7 separate regions of the Homo sapiens genome follow, and all the other regions are linked to region 7. Evidence: promoter capture Hi-C in 16 types of primary human blood cells and fetal thymus (Javierre and others, 2016). All regions are on one chromosome and are shown on one strand. Each heading gives the region's core, a stretch centred on a gene start or on the middle of the fragment in contact. The rest is flanking DNA. Distances are from core to core; before and after follow the strand shown.

What was found. The method cuts DNA at HindIII sites, captures the fragments that hold promoters and counts their contacts. A CHiCAGO score of 5 or more calls a contact.
Region 1: a contact is called between a fragment that was not itself captured here and the fragment with the promoter of FER in region 7, in 8 of 17 cell types (naive CD8 T cells, total CD4 T cells, total CD8 T cells and 5 more). The highest score is 7.2, in naive CD8 T cells.
Region 2: a contact is called between a fragment that was not itself captured here and the fragment with the promoter of FER in region 7, in 3 of 17 cell types (endothelial precursors, monocytes and erythroblasts). The highest score is 6.6, in endothelial precursors.
Region 3: a contact is called between a fragment that was not itself captured here and the fragment with the promoter of FER in region 7, in 1 of 17 cell types (total CD8 T cells). The highest score is 5.4, in total CD8 T cells.
Region 4: a fragment that was not itself captured here is called in contact with the fragment with the promoter of FER in region 7 in 1 of 17 cell types (monocytes); the score reaches 5.2 in monocytes.
Region 5: a contact is called between a fragment that was not itself captured here and the fragment with the promoter of FER in region 7, in 1 of 17 cell types (monocytes). The highest score is 6.0, in monocytes.
Region 6: a fragment that was not itself captured here is called in contact with the fragment with the promoter of FER in region 7 in 3 of 17 cell types (monocytes, total B cells and naive B cells); the score reaches 7.6 in monocytes.

Annotation. Positions count from the first base shown.
Region 1 is chr5:109,382,887-109,385,868 of GRCh38, reverse strand. PJA2 (praja ring finger ubiquitin ligase 2) reads left to right here. Exons shown (of 10, transcript NM_014819.5): 2 at 2,349-2,466. The coding sequence starts at 2,436. Among named protein-coding and RNA genes, the nearest start is that of PJA2, 26 kb to the left of the region's middle. The HindIII fragment of the contact is 2,699 bases long and covers 1-2,611 here.
Region 2 is chr5:109,479,738-109,482,972 of GRCh38, reverse strand. All of the region lies in intron 4 of LOC105379117 (a long non-coding RNA gene), which reads right to left. Among named protein-coding and RNA genes, the nearest start is that of PJA2, 71 kb to the right of the region's middle. The HindIII fragment of the contact is 2,934 bases long and covers 1-2,872 here.
Region 3 is chr5:109,363,537-109,366,348 of GRCh38, reverse strand. All of the region lies in intron 5 of PJA2 (praja ring finger ubiquitin ligase 2), which reads left to right. Among named protein-coding and RNA genes, the nearest start is that of PJA2, 45 kb to the left of the region's middle. The HindIII fragment of the contact is 239 bases long and covers 1,347-1,585 here.
Region 4 is chr5:109,650,939-109,654,235 of GRCh38, reverse strand. No RefSeq gene overlaps it. Among named protein-coding and RNA genes, the nearest start is that of MAN2A1, 37 kb to the left of the region's middle. The HindIII fragment of the contact is 6,499 bases long and covers 1-3,297 here.
Region 5 is chr5:109,496,524-109,499,705 of GRCh38, reverse strand. All of the region lies in intron 4 of LOC105379117 (a long non-coding RNA gene), which reads right to left. Among named protein-coding and RNA genes, the nearest start is that of PJA2, 88 kb to the right of the region's middle. The HindIII fragment of the contact is 2,227 bases long and covers 428-2,654 here.
Region 6 is chr5:109,461,792-109,465,072 of GRCh38, reverse strand. The region is part of intron 2 of LOC105379117 (a long non-coding RNA gene); the gene reads right to left. Among named protein-coding and RNA genes, the nearest start is that of PJA2, 53 kb to the right of the region's middle. The HindIII fragment of the contact is 4,316 bases long and covers 1-3,281 here.
Region 7 is chr5:108,746,600-108,749,751 of GRCh38, reverse strand. FER (FER tyrosine kinase) reads right to left here and starts at 1,855. Exons shown (of 20, transcript NM_005246.4): 1 at 1,752-1,855. RefSeq lists silencers at 309-718, 849-908, 989-1,088. The HindIII fragment of the contact is 11,506 bases long and covers 1-3,152 here.

The DNA of each region.
Region 1 (2,982 bases), core at 13-2,512, 640 kb before region 7:
TGTTTAGACTTGGATGTCATCCCCACGATATCTCATTATGTATATGCAAATATTCAAAGATTTGAAAAAATCCCAAATCCGCACTTCTGGTTCCAAGCATTTTGGAAAAGGGATACTCAATCTCTGCTTCTTTTTCCCTGGCCTCTTCATATTTGATTTTCTCAGGGCTTAACTTCACTTCTCCATGTACACCTAGAGATCTCATCCAAGTTCATACCTGTTTTGGTATAATCTATACACTGACAACTCCCAAATTATACTAACAGCTCATAATTCTTCAGTCAACACCAGACTCCTATTTAATATTTCCATTTGAATGTCTAATAGATATCTCAAACTTAACTCATCCAAAACTGAACTGAATATATTTTCTTCAAATCTGGCTCTTCCACAATTTTTCCTACATTAATTGAAATTTACTCCATTTTTCCCATTGCCCAGCCTGTAAAACCTGGAGTCAACCTCGACCTTCTTTCATATCCTATATTAGTAAATTTTGTTGATTGTATTTTTACAATATGTCCAGAATCTGGTCATTTCTTACCATCTTTATTTTAACCCTGGTCCAAACCACTATGATCTCTTACCAGTATTATTTTGATAGCTTTTTAACAGTGCTCCCTGCTTTAGACCTCATTCCTCTTCATGCTATTCAATACAGTAGCCAGAGCATTCTTCTTAAAACAGAAGTCAAATATCTCTTCTGTGGTCAGAACTTTGATGGTTTTCCATCTCAGAATAAAACGCACATTTCAGCCAGGCACTGTGGCTCATGCCTGTAATCCCAGCACTTTGGGTGGCCAAGGCAGGTGGATCACGTGGTCAGGAGTTTGAGACCAGCCTGACCAATATGGTGAAACCCTGTCTCTACTAAAAATACAAAAATTAGCCGGGCATGGTGGCACACGCCTACAGTCCCAGCTACTGGGAGGCTGAGGCAGGAGAATCACTTGAACCCGTGAGGTGGAAGTTGCAGTGAGCCGAGATCAAGCCCCTGCACTCCAGCCTGGGCGACAGAGCAAGACTCGCCCTCAAAAAAAAAAAAGTTAAAACACTGTTAATTAGCACCTATGTTTTTGCCAGTATGTTAAGATTATTATTATTTTTATATTCCTTTTCTCTTTAGCTGTTGCTAACAGCCTCTTTTGATTCAGATACTTTAAAGGATCATAACTTGTTACTGAATTTATAAATTATATGGGTGAATGTGGGTTTGTACTCTTACGTATGTTAATATATATCTGTCTGTGATTAGACAGGTAACATATAAATTAAACTCATTTGCAGAGCTATTGCATTAATGATGAGCAATTAGCAGTAGCTCAAGTGTTTAAATAAATAAGGTGTTTAAATAAAAACTTAACCAAACTTTCAAAAAAACCACAGGTTGCAACTTCTCAAATAGTACTTTTCAAATAGTAAATAAATGCATTAATTTCAAAACAGAAGTTCTTTTTGTATTTGTTCCATGATAAATTGTAGTTTTTCCTGATTGAAAATAGGTTCTTATTTGGGATTAAATTATCTGATCAACTGACTATTGCAAAGAATAAATACATCATTATTTACACACATTAATTATTGTTATAAGCCATTACACATTTTTAAAAAATGAAGTTTGTATTCTTACAGTTACCTTTTAGCAATTCCAGGGCTAAAGGAACTTTACTGCTTGACAGAGAAGCAATGATAGCACAGTGTAGTAGACTCCCAAATAGTTTGGTTACATACCTGAGTCAGTACTTCTGATATTTTTGTTTGTTTACTTACAAATTATGTATGTGTTGTTGTCATTGACAGTCTTAAGGATGATATATACTTAGGCAAGGTTTATCAAGAGCAGATGTAAATCTGTATTTCACATAGCCATTTTGGTATTTCTGAGAGTTTTTGATTGGCTTGTCAAATTGTGTTGTATTTTTCTTGTTTTTATTTATTTTTGGGACGGGATCTCACTTTGTCACCCAGGCCTGGAGTGCAGTGGCATGATCTCGGCTCACTGCAGCCTCCACCTCCTGGGCTCAAGCAATCCTCCCACCACAGCCTCCTGAGGGACTAGAGGTGTGCACCACCACGCCTGGCTAATTTTTGTATTTCTTGCAGAGACAGACTTTCACCATGTTGGCCAGGTTGTTCTCGAATTCCTGAGCTCAAACTGATTTGCTCGCCTTGGCCTGCCAAAGTGCTGTAATCTAAGGCGGATCACAGGCATTTGCCACCATGCTGGCTACATCACATTGTATTTTTCTAAGTTTTATTATAAGACTTCACTAGGAGGAGCAGAAGTATCAGTTTTGCTATTTTTGTGCTTTTATTAATATATTGTTCAATTCATTGTTTCTTTGTAGGAATCTTCTGCGGCTTGTCCATAGTGTGAATAAAAACTAAATCACATCTATAATTCTACTGAACTGGTCACACAGACGCTGCCATATATGTCACAGTACACTGAAAAGGAGCCAGCAGGTAAGGAAAGTCAGTTCTTCTACATTGAGTACTTCTTGTTTTTTCCTCTGGGTACCTTGAGTACCAGTAAGTGACATATGATCATCTGACCTGTGGTCTTACTAAAAGGCTGGTTTTGATCCATATATTGAATATTTGTAAAGCTTAGTTTCTAATTTTTGATAGGTAAAAATAGAAATTCTGGTATTTTCTTTCCATACCCATTTAGCTTGGAAAGCTTTATGCTTTCCACTTCGGAGACTATTCTTTTGGTAGAATTGTTAAGGGCATTGGTTCTGGAGTCATACTTTTGGATTATTAGACAAGTTATCCAACACTTAATTTTAACTTTAATTTTTCAATTTTTAAAATAGAATACAATATCCACCTCAAGATTACTGATGGGATTAAATAAGTGTAACACTTGATATTATTTATACTCGATATGTGCGTGTATTATAAATACATGTTTGTTTCTGTTTCCTTCTTGGAAGTGATTATATTTCTTATTTTAATACAACTAAGAAATTATGTAAC
Region 2 (3,235 bases), core at 156-2,655, 730 kb before region 7:
CCTAAGACCAACCTTTGATCATCGGCAGGCACATGACTGCTCTTTACGCAGGAGGTTGGCAATGTTAATTACCCTCTAGTGTTGTTTACTGGAGACATTTGTCATTTAATCTGTACTAAATAAATGCGAACTTCACCAGCTTGTCGGGGCCAAAGCTGTGGACTCAGGCAGCAAAGCCCCTTAGCTGCTCTGACAGGCAAAATATCTGTGTCAGTGTATGTCTTTCATCCGTCACTGGGTCAGGGTCTGCACGTCAGACCCAGCATCTTCCCAGTATGTCATCCCAGTGCTAACACTCCCTTCCTCCTCAAAACAAAACAAAATAAAACCCAACCCTAATAAAACTTTCATTGCTCCTTGTTTAATTCAAATCTGTCTTTCAGGGACAGTCCGATTAGAGTGAGTGAGGTCACATGACTATACCCTAATACAAGGGGTTTGGGAATGGAAATTTTCTGGCTCCCACTTTAGGAAGGTGAGACACATTATGTATGAAATTATCACAGTGTAGGATGCATGTTCAAAGACATTGAGTAGCTCAAGTGATGAATGAACATTATAGGGTCAGTCATTTTGAGTGTTCTGTATACACTGACTGTGAATTTCTGTCTCTAAGGAGAAATTTCTGCCATTAAGTACTTCTTGGCATGCTGATGAAGGACTCCACATTTCCCAGATTCCAGGACTGCTCAAACCCTTTGCTGCCACAAAGAAACCTTGCCATTCATGAAACATGTAGTCCCACTCCCTTCCTTTCTTCCCTCTCCAATATACCCAGCATTAGCATGGGGCTATAAAGATGATAAAAATTAAAGTGTGTGTGTGTGTGTATTACTAAATATCACATACTGTCATGGGGTGGCAGGTTCATTACTTCTCCTCTGGTATAAGGTTAGATATAATTGTAACAACAGAAAAAGGAATATATTGTTTTTTTAGAATTTTTTTTTTGAGATAGGGTCTTGCTCTGTAGCTCAGGCTGGAGTGCAGTGGCATGATCTTGGCTTACTGTAACTTCTGCCTCCTGGGTTCAAGCAATTCTCCTGCCTCAGCCTCCTGACTAGCTGGGACTGCAGGCGTACCCCACCATGCCAGGCTAATTTTTTTATTTTTGATAGGGACAGGGTTTCACCATGATGGCCAGGCTGGTCTCGAACTCCTGACCTCAAGTGACCTGCCCGCCTCGGCCTCCCAAAGTGTTGGGATTACAGGTGTGAGCCACCACACCCGGCATGTTTCTCAGAAATTTGATGGCATAAGAGGGAAATAGGATGCATGGATAAGATAATTAATTATAAAAGGTCTTGGAATGCAAGAAAATCATATATAATTTCACCATTATTAGTCATCCAAACCTAAGGCAGAATGCTAATTACTCACTCTAATTTAAAAAATAATGATTAAAATGGTCAGTGTTTCCAAATAATAACTGCAAAATAGTTAGATGGGAGGAAAATAAACCTATTCTTCAGTAGTGTATTTAGAAACCTTATCAATCTTTGATATTCATAGCTAAGGAGTCAATCTGCTTTGTAAATTTAATTATAAGCCAAATAATTAGTGTATGGAGAGAATTAATAAAAATATGTCAAGGTAATCACAAACCAGCTTCAAATAACTGATTTAACTAATGATGAGTTTTTCACTGAAACATCTGTATATGCTGGAGAGTTTCTCTAATATTATTTGATTTTAAAATATCTTTTAAAATTACAAATGCAGTATGTTTATGACAAAAAATTTAGAAACCTAGATAAGCAAAAAAAGAAATTACTCATTACCTCATGTATATTAGTCTGCTCAGGAGGCCATAGCAAAATAACGTAGACCAAGTGGCTTGAGCGGCAGACATTTACTTTCTTCAGTTCTAGAGGCTAGTAGTCCCAGATCAAGGCACCAGTCAATTTGCTTGATGAGGGCTTTCCTCCTGGCTTATGGGTGGCCACCTTCTTGCTGTGTTCTTACACGGGGCAGAGTAGGGAGAGGGTGGGGTGAGTGTGTACCCAGAAGCTCTCTGAAGCATTCTTAGAAGCATTATTTCCATCCTGAAGGTCCCACCCATATGACCTGTTTTAACCTTAATTACCTCCCAAAGACCCTGTTATATTGGTGGTTCAGGCTTCAACATATGAATCTGGGGAGGAAACAACATTCAGCCTATATCATGTTCAGGATAGAACCCCTGTTGAGTGTCGTCATTCTGTATTTTGCATAAGGAAGGAAACAAATATTGTAAAAAATGAAAATATACTGATTTGAAACTCTGCTTTTCATCTAACACTATTCTGAGAATATCTTTCCACTTAATTGAGTAATTACATAATTAAATATGTAAAAAGTATTTTAAATGTCTTCCACAATTTTTCTGTAACATTAGGGTTAATAACAACATAATAACTGTTAATAACAATGTATGGTTAATAACTACACTCTTAGTTTCCCAATTCACCTCTTGGTGGACATTTACATTTTCCTAATGTGTAATATTTTACCAATAGTTCTATGAAGTGCTATGAAGAACAATCTTGTGACTATTTCTTTGTTGTATCCCTATAATCATTCTGAGTAGTGGATTTCTGGGGCAAAGACTATGCATATTTTAAGACTTTCAATAGCATTGCCAAATGTCCCTTGATAAAGTTTATTCCAAATGTATTCCCAAGTAGCAAAATAAGAATGCCTGTTTTTTATGTATTCACCCTTAACTTATGTTAACATAGGGTAGTGTCATTTAAAAAACTTTTACCAGAGATATTACACTGTCACTTTAATTTAGTATTTAAATGTTCTATAGAAATTTTAATCAACCTTTACACTTAGAGGTTCCATCTATCATCAGAAAAGTCTTCCCCACCAAAAAATTAAATAAGCTTTCATATATATTTCACTCTAAACTTTTAAAGCCTGGTTGTATAGATTTACATTTTTAATTCATCTTGAGTGTATTTTAAACTTTATACTTTTTTCAAGTGATTAGCAAGTTGTCCCTATTTGTTTTGAAATTGAGTTGAATTATGCATAAGATTTTGTTATTTCCCACACAAAAAAGAATTCTAATTAGTAAGATATAAAAATAGGCCTTATGTTAAAGGATCCTTAAATATAAAGTAGTCCTCATGGTATAGACTCTTAGGATCATTTTATTATAAAGATTACGTAGATTGACTCCGGCCAGCTGTTGGTAATTTTATTTTTTCAAAAACATGGTGTGAACATGAACTATGACAACTCCCTG
Region 3 (2,812 bases), core at 217-2,716, 620 kb before region 7:
GTTTTGCTCACACATTTTTCATCCTTAGACTTGCTCTTAGAGCTAGCAGCCTTGTTTTGATGAATCTATGATTACATATTTATTTTCTCTAACCTGGATTTTATTTTCTAACAGTGATTCAGACTATTTAGTAAGGTAGTTTTTGTATTACCATGATGTGTGTAGATCACAAGTCTCTTTCCAATTAATATATTTTGCATTCAGAATGATGTATTTCATTCAGAATGATGTAGTACACCAAATGTCAATTGCATAATTATGACAACCTAATTAAATCTAGCCCAAAAAAAGTTCTAATATCTGGGATGGAACAGAAAGAAGAATAAAAAATGGGAATAAATTAGTACATTTTCAAAAGCTTGAGTTGTCTAGATAGACACCAATAGAGCTTTGACCAAAGGGAGAAAATAACCTGTACTTTGGTTGAAATTGAGAAAACCTTCAAGGTTTTAAAATTTGTTAAGCATCTGCTAAACATCTGTTAGTTTTAGCTATCTTTAGGCTAAATATACAAACAACTGTGTGACTCCTTAATAATTGGTCACATGACTCATGAAACTAAAAAAATTCTTTTCACTATTGTACTTTGCATAATTAAAGGGATGGTTTCTGAAATACCAGTAAGAGTGAATACAGATTTAATGACACAAGTTTGAGTGCTTTGGAAATATTTAATGAATTGCTAACAGTTTATTGCTTGGGTAGCTATTTCTGGTTGAACTTCTCTTGATAAACAGATGAAATTACAGTTGTTTTAAAAAAAAAAGGATTCATACAACAATAAAAAGTGAGTTTAGACAGTATGGAAAGACCAATTAAAAACCATTATAACCAGCTTCCTTTTTGAACTTCTAAAGATCTTCCGTACACATAAAAGCATATATGTGTACACGTTCCATTTCATTTTTTATGCAACCGGTAGCACATTGTGTAGACATATGTGTACACCTTGGTTTCGTTATTTGTTTTGTTTATAGATCTGTTTTTTAGATTGTTCCATATTCATATAGATTTCCTTTATTCATTTTAAGTCTGCATAGTTCTACCTTGTTTTGCTTAAAGTCACATATTCTAAGAAGCTCGTATAAAGTTAAGTCAGAACTTACTGTATACTACTACATGAGTATACCAGTTTCATTTGGTGGACAGTTTTGGCTATTGTGAGTAATGCTGAAGAAAAAATAAAAAACACATTGTACATGTTTAGGAGAAATAACTGGAAGCCGAACCACTAGGTCAGTGAGTGTGCATAAACCTAATCTATAGCTTTTGCCGGGTTTCTCTACAAAGAACTTAAATTAGTCACTTTCTTACCAACACTATATGAATTGCCTTTCTTCAAAGCTTTCTTCAGAGCTTCACCAACACACAGGGTATTATCAGAATTTTTTATTTTTGCTAATAGTTGAAACATATTTCAGTTGTTTTAATTTGCATTTTGCTTATTATAAATGAGGCAGAGCATCTCTTTATATATTTAAGGGCTATTTGAATTTCCTTTTCTGCTAATTATTATATCCTTTGCCTCCTTTCTGTTGATATATATTGATGTTTTTCTTACAGTTTTTTTTTTACATTTTAAGCTTCTATTGATTAAGGAAAAGCCCTTTGTCTCTCTTGTATTGTAGTTCACGTTTCTCAGTTTGAGTTTTGTGTCCAAATTTTGTGACTTCAGGGTTTTATATCATGCTTAGAATGACACTGAAATTTTTTTTTTTTTTTTTTTGAGACAGAGTCTCGCTCTGTCGCCCAGGCTGGAGTGCAGTGGCGGGATCTCGGCTCACTGCAAGCTCCGCCTCCCGGGTTCACGCCATTCTCCTGCCTCAGCCTCCCAAGTAGCTGGGACTACAGGCGCCCGCCACTACGCCCGGCTAATTTTTTGTATTTTTAGTAGAGACGGGGTTTCACCGTTTTAGCCGGGATGGTCTCGATCTCCTGACCTCGTGATCCGCCCGCCTCGGCCTCCCAAAGTGCTGGGATTACAGGCGTGAGCCACCGCGCCCGGCCGACACTGAAATTTTTATAAAATTTCCTCATGACTATTCTCGTACTCATTGTTTAAGTGAGGTGGGGGGTGCATATACACATGTACTTCAAAAAAGTATAGCTAAAGTTTATTTAAGGGATTTAACCTCCCTCCCTGCGGGCGAATACCCAGTTGTCCCAGTACATTTTGTTGATGAGTCCTTTTTTGTTTTTGTTTTTTGAGACACAGTCTCGCTTTGTTGCCCAGGCTGGAGTGCAGTGGTGTGATCTCAGCTCACTGCAACCTCTGCCTCCTGAGTTCAAGCGATTCTCATGCCTCAGCTTCCTGAGTAGATGGAATTAGGCATGCACCCAGCTAATTTTTTGTAGTTTTAGTAGAGACAGCGTTTCACTATGTTGTCCAGGCTGGTCTCAAACTCCTGGCCTCAAGTGATCTGCCTGACTCGGACTCCCAAAGTGCTGGGATTATAGGGGTGAGCCACTGCACCTAGCCTAATGAGTCCTTTTTTTTCTTCCTGTTTTGAAATGCTTCCTTTATCTCCTCCTTATTTTCTTGATCTGTACCATTGATTTGTGTGTCTCTGTTCCTGTTTAGTTAGTTTCTAGTAGGAGTAGACTGACAGTAAACAAATAAGAAAATGTTAAACAAAAATAAATTTTATAGTTTAAATAAGCAGAGTTATGTGGTAGTCAGTAACTGGAGAGCTATTTAAACTGAATGTTCAAGACAGGCCTCCCTGAGATGGTGACTTATGAATCTGACATGAACATCAAGAAGAAAGTAGCAAAGTAAAAATTCAGTGCAAGAACATTTTAGGTAGAGGAA
Region 4 (3,297 bases), core at 249-2,748, 900 kb before region 7:
TAGCAAGTGCAGAGCCAGGATTAAAGCCAGATAGTCCTACTCCAGAGCCTGCACATAACCAATAATAATATATAAATATACTTTCTTGAGGACAGGGGAAACTTAAGGATGGACCAATAACAATGATGATAATATCATCCCAAAGACATTTGAGCCAGGAAATCAGAGAAGAGAAGAGGTTACTGGGAAACTGTGCTAGTCAGGCCCTTTGTTGACATTGTGTCACTGAACTCTGACAACCCTGAGTGTTAGTGGGTATTATTTCTGTTTTGAGGATGAAGAAACAGAAATTCAGGAAAGGTGAGTTTTGCTTACAATCATAGAGGTAGATTTCAACTAACTCTTGTTGTTTCTGAAGTCAATGATACTTCATTGCGTCTGTCTACTTTTAACAAGAACTAACATTTGTGGAGCACTTTATAGTCTAGAAAGCCCTGTCACATGCACCAACTCCTTTGATCCTCGGGAGCCCACCTGAGGTGAGCATAGCAGTAACAACATTTTCACTTACACATGAAGGCACTGTGGATCTGAGAGGCCGTGTGTTCTCTGAGGTCACAAGGATATCATGTGGCTGAATTGAGACTAGAAACCAGGTTTTCTGAAAAGCTAAAATTCCTTTATTCTTTCTTCCTAACCTTATTAGAATATATCCTATAGGATATGAGTGAGCAAGGGGGCAATACAGTGGATAGTGAACTCTAGTTCCAGGAATAAAAGAACGATAGAAGTCGTAGGCGAGGAGGCAATTAACCATGGGAACTTCTAAATAGGCAAATAGGAGCAAGGAGGGAAGAGGCCTTGACTTTTTGACATTTTGGCAAAGATCAGAACAACTAGCACACACTGTGTAAAAAAAATCCTCTGTCTCAAACTGATTCATTCATTCAATAAATTCTTAATGAATGCTTAATGTGCGAAGCAAGGAGGGGTCCAAGAGTGAGAAATATGGATGCAGGCCAGCTAGACACACTGAGAGCATGGTGTGGAGAGGAAGCAGTAACACTGCTTTTCATGCCAATCTTGGCTCTTCTTACACTGGCTAGAGGTGGGGGACAGCTAGTTTGCCAGTTCGTGGTGTAAATTCTCCCACCTGTGGCTGATTGTAAGCTATCAAGGTGATGGGAATTGGCTCACAAAATTCCTGAAAATTTAACAATCAGTTCTCCAGGCTCAGCACACTGCTGAAACCATCCCCTACCCCACTCACCCTACCCTCCTCACATAGTTAACAGTGGAAATTATTATTTCTTACAAGTTCTAAAGGATTTCAGGAACGGTTTCCAGTACTAGGAGGGGAACATCAAAGCTGAGAAACTGCACGGCAGTTTGAGTTTTAGCCCAGAGTGACAGAAGTCAAGGCAAAGGAATTCAGTAATACTCCAAAGCACATCTATTGAGTCTTGCAAGAAGACAGGCTGAAGCAAATTTAGAGCCTGCTGAAGATCTAGAAGTATGCATCCCCACTCCAAGAGATAGACCACTTCAGCAAGCCCAAGTTTTATCACATGAGATTCTTACCTGGGAGACAAAACACGGTGATCCATGAATGGACCACGTTGGTCTGCATTTGGCCGAAAATACACCCTTAAAATTGTCAATAAGTAGATTGGACAGAGAGCAGGGGCTGGGTTCAGAAAGTGAGAAACTTCCGGGGAGAGAATGCAGGCGAGGACCCAGAAGGCAGAGTGGGAAGAACACCAAAGCCTCATGAATCCTACTTCATAATTTTGCCTGAGGCTGGTGAAATATGCACATGTTGAGCTATCAACAGATATAAAGGGATAATGTAATAAAACCTGGTCAAAAAATAAAGTAAGGTAACATGGAAGGACTTCTGGTCTCCTATCTTTTCTAATAACCTTGCAAAAGACATGTGACAGCAAATAAGAGTTTACAGCTGTATGGCTTCCCATAGAGATTAAAGGCTAGGCTTGGCAATACTCTGCAGTACTTAGCAGCATGTGTGAAATTACTCGTGGAAATGCTTCTCATTCTGTGCATTTTATTTATTTTTTTAACCATAGTATGAGACTGAATTCTTTCTAGATGCAGTAAAATGAACCACCAGATTGTTTTCAGGGATAGCACAAAAACCTCTACACACTTAACTAAAAAACATTAAAAGTGATGTTTGGTACTACATAAAAGTTCCTGAAGACCTGCTCAATTGGAAATTGTTTATGTAATGCTTGAAGGCATTTAATAGTCAGAAATGTTGCAAATTCATAATGAGAAATTGGTCAAATGAGTTGGTGGTGATAATATATTAATTCTTTCATTAATACAAAATATATAAATAAAACAGTACAAGATCTTTGCTTGTTAAATAAATGACACAAAAAACCAACAACCTAGATGAGATGGCACTTAGCCTCAAGGATGAGCCTATATCCGCTGCTATTCACACAGATGAAAAGATGATGGTAAAGGACAGAAAGCACAAAACTCAAATATAGTAGTTTATCATCATCTATTTGCCAATAACACATAATGTTTGACTGGTTAAATAGCATAACTAACATATGCATAAAGGCTCTTCAGAAACAATACATTAACATAAATTTTGGGCAACCTGGGATGGTTTCTACAACAATGTCTCAAATAATAAATTCAGTTAGACAAGAGTATATGAGAATATACTTCAATGCATAGCCCTATTTTGTAATTCTTGGCTACAGTATCCACTTATCCCCCCCCATAATTAGAAATTACAATTTGACAATATAACAAATGAACATCAAAATTCAATAGAGGCTTCTTTTAGAAGCTAGATTTTCCTCTTCTTTATATATTTATTACTACAATCATGCCCAGCTGTTATTCCAAATGACACTAAGTTCCAATACTCTGATAATCCAAGTTCCTAATTAAAATTAGAAAAAAAATTACACCCCACTACATAAAAAAATCAGAGACCCTCACAACATACAGTTCAAACAAGTTACCTGGAGAGCCTAATTTGACTACTATTTTTGTTTGTTTTCTTTAAATTATAAAATCAACATAAAATCAACATCAAGGAAAATTGTTGAAAAGTTGAAAAAAATCGACTGTCTTTCTGGATACCAATATAATTATTTTCCGTTGCGTATCTGCTATTGCATTCTTGAGCCTGGTGCATACATATCTTATATAGTCACAATTGTAGCACAAACGCAAATGTATATTACTTTGATTATTTTCATGAATGCCTTTTAGTGGTTGTTCACTGTTTTTATTTTCCCCTTGGTGAATATCCATTAAGTACCTAAAACAGTACCTGGCACGTTGTAAATGTCATAAATAAATACTTTA
Region 5 (3,182 bases), core at 292-2,791, 750 kb before region 7:
GTAAAACTCTTGTCTGTCTCCAGGACCAGTATGATGCATGGCAGGAGAGAAGTGGATGCTCACATGGTGAGCAGAGATACCTGACTTAGTACAAGCCAACAGTGGGATTTAAGGATCCCTGGCTTCCAGCTGTGTCTCGTTTGTTAATTCCTGGCTCTGCCTCTGAATAGATGGATAACCTTGGACAATCTCTGTGTACCCTGACAGCCTGGATGTTTCTCATCCGTCTCATATTCTTCACAGCTGGCAGCAGAGAGCTTTGTAGAGAGTAAGTACACCGATGGTTCCTTATAGATTATTTGGATTGCTATCTTCTTTGGGAAAATGTCCCCTAAATGTAAATAAAAGGATAAAATAAATTTGTATAGAAAAACCTATTTGGAGAATGACAAAACATAGAAAGTTTCAATAATCATCCTATGAAGCTTAATACGTAATAATCTAAACATGGTAAAGCATTTTTGAAATTTCTATGTTGTAATATACTTCAAAAGCCCAACCATTTTTTAACAATTTGTGACTTTTTGAATTATAAAATATACACACTTATTATTAAAAACTTTGGAAAATACAGAAACACATACAGAATTAATGTTGATTCCACCACACAAAAATAATTATTAAAATGTTTAGGTATAAACTTTATCTCATTTACCTTTATATGCACATATGTTTTACAAATTTGTAAATATACTATAAATATTCTATAACCTGATTTTTCAATTAATATAAATACTTCTCCTTATCATTAAATGTTATTCTTACTACCATTTCAATGGCTTCACAATGTTCAAGATATATGATAATTTATTGCCGGTTATATCTCAATACTTTCCATGGTTTGCTTTTATAAATAACACAGTAGCTGAGTAAACTTGTACATAAATTTTTGCACATATCTGTTTATTTTGATGGAAAAAATTCCCACTCGTAGAATTTCTGGAAAAAAGAGAATGTATATTTTTTAAAACTCTTGATATTTAACTACCAAAATATGTCTCCAGTTGACACATTCATCCACAGCCTGCATTTAATACTTTTTAAAATGAACAAATAATTGTACACATTTATGAGACACAACGTGATGTTTTGATATATGTATACATTGTGGAATGATTAAATCAAATTCATTAACATATCTATCACCTTCTCTACTTTTTTGTGGTGAGAACTTTTAAAATCTCTTTTAGCAATTTTGAAATATACATTACTATTAACTATGATCATAGAATCTAAAAAAGTCAAACTTATACTTTTGAATACCCTCAAACTGAACAAATCTTGATTTTTGAAAATAATTCAATTCCTCATTAGATACCCTACTTACACCACTAGAGTATAAACTTCTAGAACTCAGAGACCACATCCTAAAAATTCATGGTTTGTATTCCCCAAAATATCAAGAAAAGATAATTTTATATTAATACCTGGTGAATAAGGTCAGGATCAAACTGGGTGCTGCTGTTTGAGTCAAATTAATATGACTGTAAAATAACAAACTGATTGTGTATATTGCCAACCGGCTTTGAAACATCAATAAATTCTTACTCATAAGCACAGAAAACAATTACTATAGAAAACAAATGGAAGATACATGGGGCTTACCTGTTTCCTAGGTGGCATCTTCAAATTGGTGGGATTTTTTCCTGATTATTCAGAGATGATACTCATAAAAAGAAATCCCCAAAGAATAGAACATGTAGATAATGACAGAAGCACATTCTGGTAAATGTTGTTTTAAACAATGAGACAAAATTGAAGTACACATATAAACATAGATGAAGATGAGTAAAGCAAATCTCAATGAAAAGGTCTAGGAGAAAAATAAGTATTGCTTTTTTGTTGTGTTTTTGTCTTCTAACAACAATAACAAAAAAGGAGCACGATCGAATTCCAAAAGTGGCTTGCAAGACAAGCCTCCTTTAACTGCTGCCTAAGAGTGCTATCCAGGACTTTCAACACTACGATGTGTATTTGTGGGCGTTTGCACCACAGCAGGACAAACAGAAGCCAGAGCCATACTTTTCCAGGTCAGTGAAGAGGTGGTTAGAAGTCAGACACAGCTGTTACAGATGAGCTATTTCTCTTAGAAACAACGGCAATAGGGCTTTGGGCCTCATAAATCTGTTCAGGCTCTGGAAAGCCCTGGAGTTTTACTTTGACCTCTCCAATTGAGGTCATCGCTAGCAATCTACCTGGGACACCTACCTCAGAGCTGTGTCGCACAAAGCCTTTCTTCTGTCACTGCCACCTTCTTCCCTCCATCCCTCTTGACTATACCCTAGATCAAGCCAACCAAGGGTGCTGTTGGAAGAAACCGAGCTCATACTTTGGTGAAAAGGAGACAGCAGTGATATTCCTTGCCTTCTGAACAGGCAGAGCCATGGCAGGCTGCACATCAAGAGTTCAGTCTGCAAGGTGAAACGTGTAAAGAGATGGGGCTGGAAAGATGTATCCTGCACTTTGTTTAAACATCTGTGGATAGGTGTTGAGGTCTCTCAGTTAGTAAAACTTGGCCCTACAGTCAAAATTGTAGAGGGGACAAAGTTTGTCTTCAGTTACAAAAAAATTAGGGATCCTTCAGCACCTACTTCAGTTCAGTTTTCACATTTCTCAGCTCCTTTAAATCCGACAGCATTCCAGGGAGGTAAGCTTACTATTCCCACTTTAACAGATGAAGAAACTGAGCTAAAAAGGAGGAAGTCATGTATCCAAAGTTAACCAATTAATAAATGGAAGGGCCAAAATATAACCTTGAGTCTTATTAGTTCTAAAATCCCTTTTAATATACCCTCCCCATTTTCTATTCACTTGTGTCTCTTTTTTTTCTGAGCTTTTCCTGTTCAAATAGACTTTCAGCCAGCTACCATGTTAGAATAAATTTGGTAATATAATTTGTAGTGTATTACCTTTTTAAAGTGTTGATTGCATCTTAGGATGAAATTTCAGTGGTGAAATGTTAGATATCAGTTTAATACAAGAGGTATTTCAAGATTATATTCTCAGAAGAGGAAACCAAGTTTTCTAGTGGGACAACTGATAGTCTCAATTCTAGAAGATGTCTAAGACAGGGGCCACATGTCTTTGTCCATCTCTGTTGTGTGACACGGACAGAATGTGCTTTAAAAATACTTTTGATGAGAATGATGAAAAACTGTGTTGGGGTTTCAAGGAAAAAATAT
Region 6 (3,281 bases), core at 639-3,138, 720 kb before region 7:
AGATATATAGCCATTGATTCTCTTTTGTACTCAAGATGTCTTCGCATTAATAAAGCAAACCAACAGCAAATATTTCAGCCTTCTCTGACTACACTTCAAAGTTCAGAAGGAAGATTTTGTTTTAAAGAAATAATTCTGGTTGAGTTCAAAATAACCTGAAACTATAAAATTTGGAGAAAGTTTTGGTTTTTATTTTAAGTTAAAAATGCTTGAAGAAGAGAGAAAATTTTAAGTTATGAAAATACCTCATTTATCTTTGTGACATTTATACTTTATTAGATATAATTTCATTTTTATTAATGTAAGTTCTCAGCTCCATCAAATGCTAATAAAGTAGAAGTTGTAAGACCATATTTATTATCAGAGACATACAAACCATTTTTGATAGTAATATTTTCAAAAAGCTAATCTGAAGTCATGATGGGATACTTTTACTCTGCTTGGCAATACTATGAACTGATAAGATTCTTATATTTCTAATCCATCTCCATTTTCAATATCCAATCAAAATTTTAAAAATGACATTAAATCTTGAAGGTAATAATAAACCAGGGTCATTCCAAATTCCGTGATTGGATGGCCAATTGCATGTGAGTACATGCTTTGTTCAAAGTTTCCATCACGTTCAGGAGGAATCAGAGATGAGTAACAACTCTAATTTGGTTCTCCTTTTCCAAGGTTAACTGGTATTAGAAAAAGTACTTTCAAAGAATCTACACTTAAAACTGTGGCAAAAGCAATGCTTTGTGTTCACCTAATCCTGTTTCATTTTCTTTTCCTGAACACAAGAGAAAAGAGTATTTCATAACTTTCCTTATAGTTAGGCCAGAGAATATGCAACTAATTCTGGTCAATGGCCTGTAAGTAGAAGGAAAGGTGCCTCTTCCACAGTAATTGAGGCCACGTGTTGAGAGTGCAGCACTTCAAGATGGAAGCCACCTGGATCCTGGAGTCACCACATACTAGACAGAATCCTTCTTGCATTGGAACTTTTATGAAAAGGAAAGGTTCTTTTGTTGTGTTAAGTCATAGAGATTTCAGGATATCTATCACAGCAGGATAGCCTAGCCTGTCCTAATGCAATTCAGAAACAAATTTTCAATATAAGTATGGAAAAAATTATATGATTGACACTTCCTCTTAAAAGAAAATCAAAATTGTGAAAATGAGTTTATTTTCTCTTTAATTGTATAAAATATAGGTTATATTGTAATTATAATCGTATTTATGCCTAAAATAGAGAATGAATCAAATGTTGGACTTTTAGCAGGTTTTGTTTAAGGACTCTTATATGTCTAATAGCCTTTGAAGGCTACTCTAAAGATGGAGTATGTCTCCTTCTCAATCTTTGGAATTACTAAATTGAAATGTAATACACATCCATTTAGGATCCCTCTGAGGTAAAAGTATGAAACTTAACGATTGGATATTAGAGAAAGTCTTACATTTAAAAAGGTTTAAAACAGTTCAAGTTCTTAGAAAATCCTTTTAGGAGTTGCATAAAAGTTCATATATAAGAAAATCACATTTTTTATGCTTCTTCGAAAGAATAGGTACAGTACTGTTATTTTACTGAACTTCGGAGAGTTCATAAAAATTCCTACTTCTGGCTTTTTATTTATTTATTTATTTATTTTAACAGGGTGTTTCTGCTGTGAACAGAGGGCACATAGCAGCTGTTCTTTTTTTTTTAATACTTTAAGTTTTAGGGTACATGTGCACAACGTGCAGGTTAGTTACATATGTATACATGTGCCATGTTGGTGTGCAGCACCCAGTAACTCGTCATTTAACATTAGGTATATCTCCTAATGTTATCCCTCCCCCCTCCCCCCACCCCACAACAGGCCCCAGTGTGTGATGTTCCTCTACCTGTGTCCATGTGTTCCCATTGTTCAATTCCCACCTATGAGTGAGAACATGCAGTGTTTGGTTTTTTGTCCTTGCGATAGGTTGCTGAGAATGATGGTTTCCAGCTTCATCCATGTGCCTACAAAGGACATGAACTCATCATTTTTTATGGCTGCATAGTATTCCATGGTGTATATGTGCCACATTTTCTTAATCCAGTCTATCATTCTTGGACATTTGGATTGGTTCCAAGTCTTTGCTATTGTGAATTGTGCTGCAATAAACATACTTGTGCATGTGTTTTTATAGCAGCATGATTTATAATCCTTTGGGTATATACCCAGAAATGGGATGGCTGGGTCAAATGGTATTTCTAGTTCTGGATCCCTGAGGAATCGCCACACTGACTTCCACAATGGTTGAACTAGTTTACAGTCCCACCAACAGTGTAAAAGTGTTGCTATTTCTCCACATCCTCTCCAGCACCTGTTGTTTCCTGACTTTTTAATGATTGCCATTCTAACTGGTGTGAGATGGTATCTCATTGTGGTTTTGATTTGCATTTCTCTGATGGCCAGTGATGATGAGCATTTTTTCATGTGTTTTTTGGCTGCATAAATGTCTTCTTTTGAGAAGTGTCTGTTCATGTCCTTTGCCCACTTTTTGATGGGGTTGTTTGTTTTTTTTCTTGTAAATTTGTTTGAGTTCATTGTAGATTCTGGATATTAGCCCTTTGTCAGATGAGTAGGTTGCAAAAATTTTCTCCCATTTTGTAGGTTGCCTGTTCACTCTGATGGTAGTTTCTTTTGCTGTGCAGGAGCTCTTTAGCTTCATTAGATCCCATTTGTCAATTTCGGCTTCTGTTGCCATTGCTTTTGGTGTTTTAGACATGAAGTCCTTGCCCATGCTTATGTCCTGAATGGTAATGCCTAGGTTTTCTTCTAGGGTTTTTATGGTTTTAGGTCTAACGTTTAAGTCTTTAATCCATCTTGAATTAATTTTTGTATGAGGTGTCAGGAAGGGATCCAGTTTCAGCTTTCTACATATGGCTAGCCAGTTTTCCCAGCACCATTTATTAAATAGGGAATCCTTTCCCCATTGCTTGTTTTTCTCAGGTTTGTCAAAGATCAGATAGTTGTAGATATGCGGCATTATTTCTGAGGGCTCTGTTCTGTTCCATTGATCTATATCTCTGCTTTGGTACCAGTACCATGCTGTTTTGGTTACTGTAGCCTTGTAGTATAGTTTGAAGTCAGGTAGTGTGATGCCTCCAGCTTTGTTCTTTTGGCTTAGGATTGACTTGGCGATGTGGGCTCTTTTTTGGTTCCATATGAACTTTAAAGTAGTTTTTCCCAATTCTGTGAAGAAAGTCATTGGTAGCTTGATGGGGATGGCATTGAATCTATAAATTACCTTGGGCAGTATGGCCA
Region 7 (3,152 bases), core at 606-3,105:
CTGGCAAAGAGACCACAGAGCAGAAATTACCGACGACACCACTAGCTTCACACTTAAGATCTATCTCTTGATTAGACTCTTGGAGGACACCTCTGGCCAAGACCGGAGGAGAAAGATGAGGTGGGGGATAAAAGCGGGAGAAGGTGACAGATAGGAGGAGAGCTGGGGAGGACCGAGCGGGTCAAGGGAGACTGCGGGGCTCCAGAAGCAGGAAGGGATGGGGGGAATACCAGGGGTTGAGAATGCCCCCGTAGCGGGACGGCGGCGCCCAGATGAGTGCCGCCGAGAAAAGGGGTGAGGGTACAGGCAAGATTGGGTGGTGCCCACAGTCCCCCCACCACCCCGCCTCACGCCCATCAGCCCCCAGACCCCGCGACGGGGCGGAGCCACTACGCCCGCCACAGCCCTTTCGCGCCGGCACCCGCCCCCTCAGCCTTCGGGTCCCGGGATGGTGGGAGGGGCGGCCCTCGTGGGGCTGGGTGTGTAGCCCGGCCCAAGCCCCAACCAGGAATGCTCTGCTGCGGGCGGGAGGATGAGCGGATGACCCTGCAGCCAGGGACGGGGGTTGGGGGGGGCGCTGGCTGAGGGCGGAGGAAGAGCCTCGGCACAGCCCCCAACGCCCTGGCCGAATCCCGGGCGCCCCTCTGCGGGCAGGCATTGTTGCCCCCGCTCTAGGCTTGCCTTCCCTCCTCTTCCCCCCTCCCCCCGCGTTGCCCCGGGCAACAGCGCCTACCGCCGGCGGCGCGAAACGCACCTACCTAGAACCTGACAAGCCCGAACCCCTCAGACTCCGGAGCCAGTCACCACCCCGCGTCACGGGGGCTGCCACAGCCAATAGGCGCCACTGTCACGAACCTCTGCAACCAATCCCGCTGCACTCCGGTCTCCGGGCACCCTCGAGGCCTCAGCCAATGGGCAAGAGCGGAAGGCGGGCGCAGCCGCCCGGCCCTCAGCCCCCTCCTCCACTACCTCCCAGGAGGCGGGGAGCGGCCGATTGGCCCGGTCCCCGAAGGGGCAGGACTTGGGCCCTAGGCTGGGTGGGCGCACGCTTAGCCCAAGCTGCGGGCCCTGGGAGTGGAGACGCGGAGCTGCGGTCGCCGCTTTCTGGGCTCGCTCACCAGCCCGGGTGGAGTCCCGAGGTCTGCGCGTTTGTGCCGCTCTCCCCGCCTCGGTAACCTGCTCCTCCCTAGCGGGTGTCCTGGGCTGCCGTGGTGAGATGGGGCCGGAGACGGACGAAGGCCTCACAGGAAACTTTGGGAGGCTCGCCTGGCCGCGGCCGGGAAGTGGCCGGACCGGCGATGATAAGCTGAGGCCGCCTGGAAGGGACTACTCGGCGGGTCGGCAGCCGGAAAGGAATTCGGAGAGTGGGGGCGGAGGCGTGATTAAAATGTTAAGTGTGCCCGGAGGGCGCTGGGCGATCCCTGGAGCTGAAATCTCCGGGAAGGGAAGCTGCTTTAGGGCCGCGAGGCCCCCACCCCTAAAATAGGCACTTTTCAGCCTCAGAATTGGTCACTTTTTCCTGTACGTTCCCACGTTTTACTTGTATCTGTTATTAACGTGGATTGCTTTAGAATGGTTTTCAGCAACTCCAGTTTACTCTGAGTCCCTTAAGGACGGGAACTGTCTTTCAATCCTGTACTCCCAGTGCCTGAGCCTGCCTAAAAATGTTAGAAACTCAATGCTGGAATTGTAATGGATGTTTAAAAGCATACAGCAGGTCCTGGGAGTGGCCCCCTATAATAAATTCTTACCTCTTCGGGAGTCTAGAATGCGTGGAGAACCCAAACGGGTCTGCTCTTCAGTGATGGCCGTTTCTGAAGCGTCCTTCACCAAAAGAATTTGGTGAAAAATGAGTAATGTGAACTACAAGATTATTACTAGGTGATCAGTAACAGTAGGATAGGTATGCGTCATTATTCGAGGGTGTGACCCTCCCATGTTCCTGTAGTAGACTTTTTAAGGCGGTGTTATCTTTTGCATTGGTTGAACCACATAGCGTCAATCCGGTATTTCCCCTCCCTCTCAAAAACTGAGTTACATAGGAGCCAAAGAAGAGTGGTGAATATTTTCTCTAAGCAGGGTTATTTATTTAACCGTAGAGAACAGCCCTACACATAAAAAAACATAAATCTTAAGTTGGACTTTTTTTAAGTCTACTGTTTTAAAGCTAAATAAACAAAAACCAACATAAAAATTTTAAATAAGAGGCTTAATTCTCCCTATTGAAAATGGAGGATGAGATTTCCCGTCCCTTTCTCTCCGAGCATTTGTCTTAGAAAACTTAAGTACTTTCTTAATTGTTAAGTACTTTCTCAACTCTTTGAAATGTGTATAAATCCACTTGAGGACTAGATAGGTCTTGTCAACTGTATGCTCAGTCAGGAATGTCTCTGGACCTTTTTTTTTTTTTTTTTTTTGAAATGCTGCACATATCAACGGAGTAGCATCCTTCCCTATCTCCCAGTTTCTGTGAGAGAGTAGGAGCGTAACTTCGGTGAGCAACTTGCTCCGTGTTGCAAAACTACCTTCCGTCATAAAGACAGGAGAAGTTTGTTTTTCCTCTGGATAAAACCAATTAACTAACACAGATGGTCACCCCAATTATTAAGTAAAGTTAATGTCACAAATGTCAGGTCCTCTTACTTGAGGACTAGTTATTGTTCAACTTGAAAACGTGTATGTAATGGGTCGTATATACTTGGCTATACAAAAGGGCAAGATTTCTGTCTTTGCAATCTCTTAGCAAATTGCCTGTGATGTGTATCACAGTCTCGTTTAATGCTTATTCAGTAATAAAAGTGTTTTGTCTACTAACGTTTGTGGAGAGGATTTCTGGGTTGGGAGATTTTGGTTTTTAATTATATTTTTCCAACAATGCCTATACCCAGAATGTTGGGATGACAAAGTTAAGGAAAGTAGTTACTTCGGAGTTTTTAAATTGTTCTCTAAAATGATGGTTAATGTTTCATATGTATTTCATAGTGATTGTTAAATGCACAAACTGTGGTTCTGTGAGTAAACTTCTTAAAATAGAAGTTAATTTTCTGTGAACATCAAATGTTATAGTATATGTAATGTCAATAAGAATGAAATGAATGAAAATTTGGTTAGGTAAGGCCAAAATACAACTTTGGAGACTGCTTCATGACTGA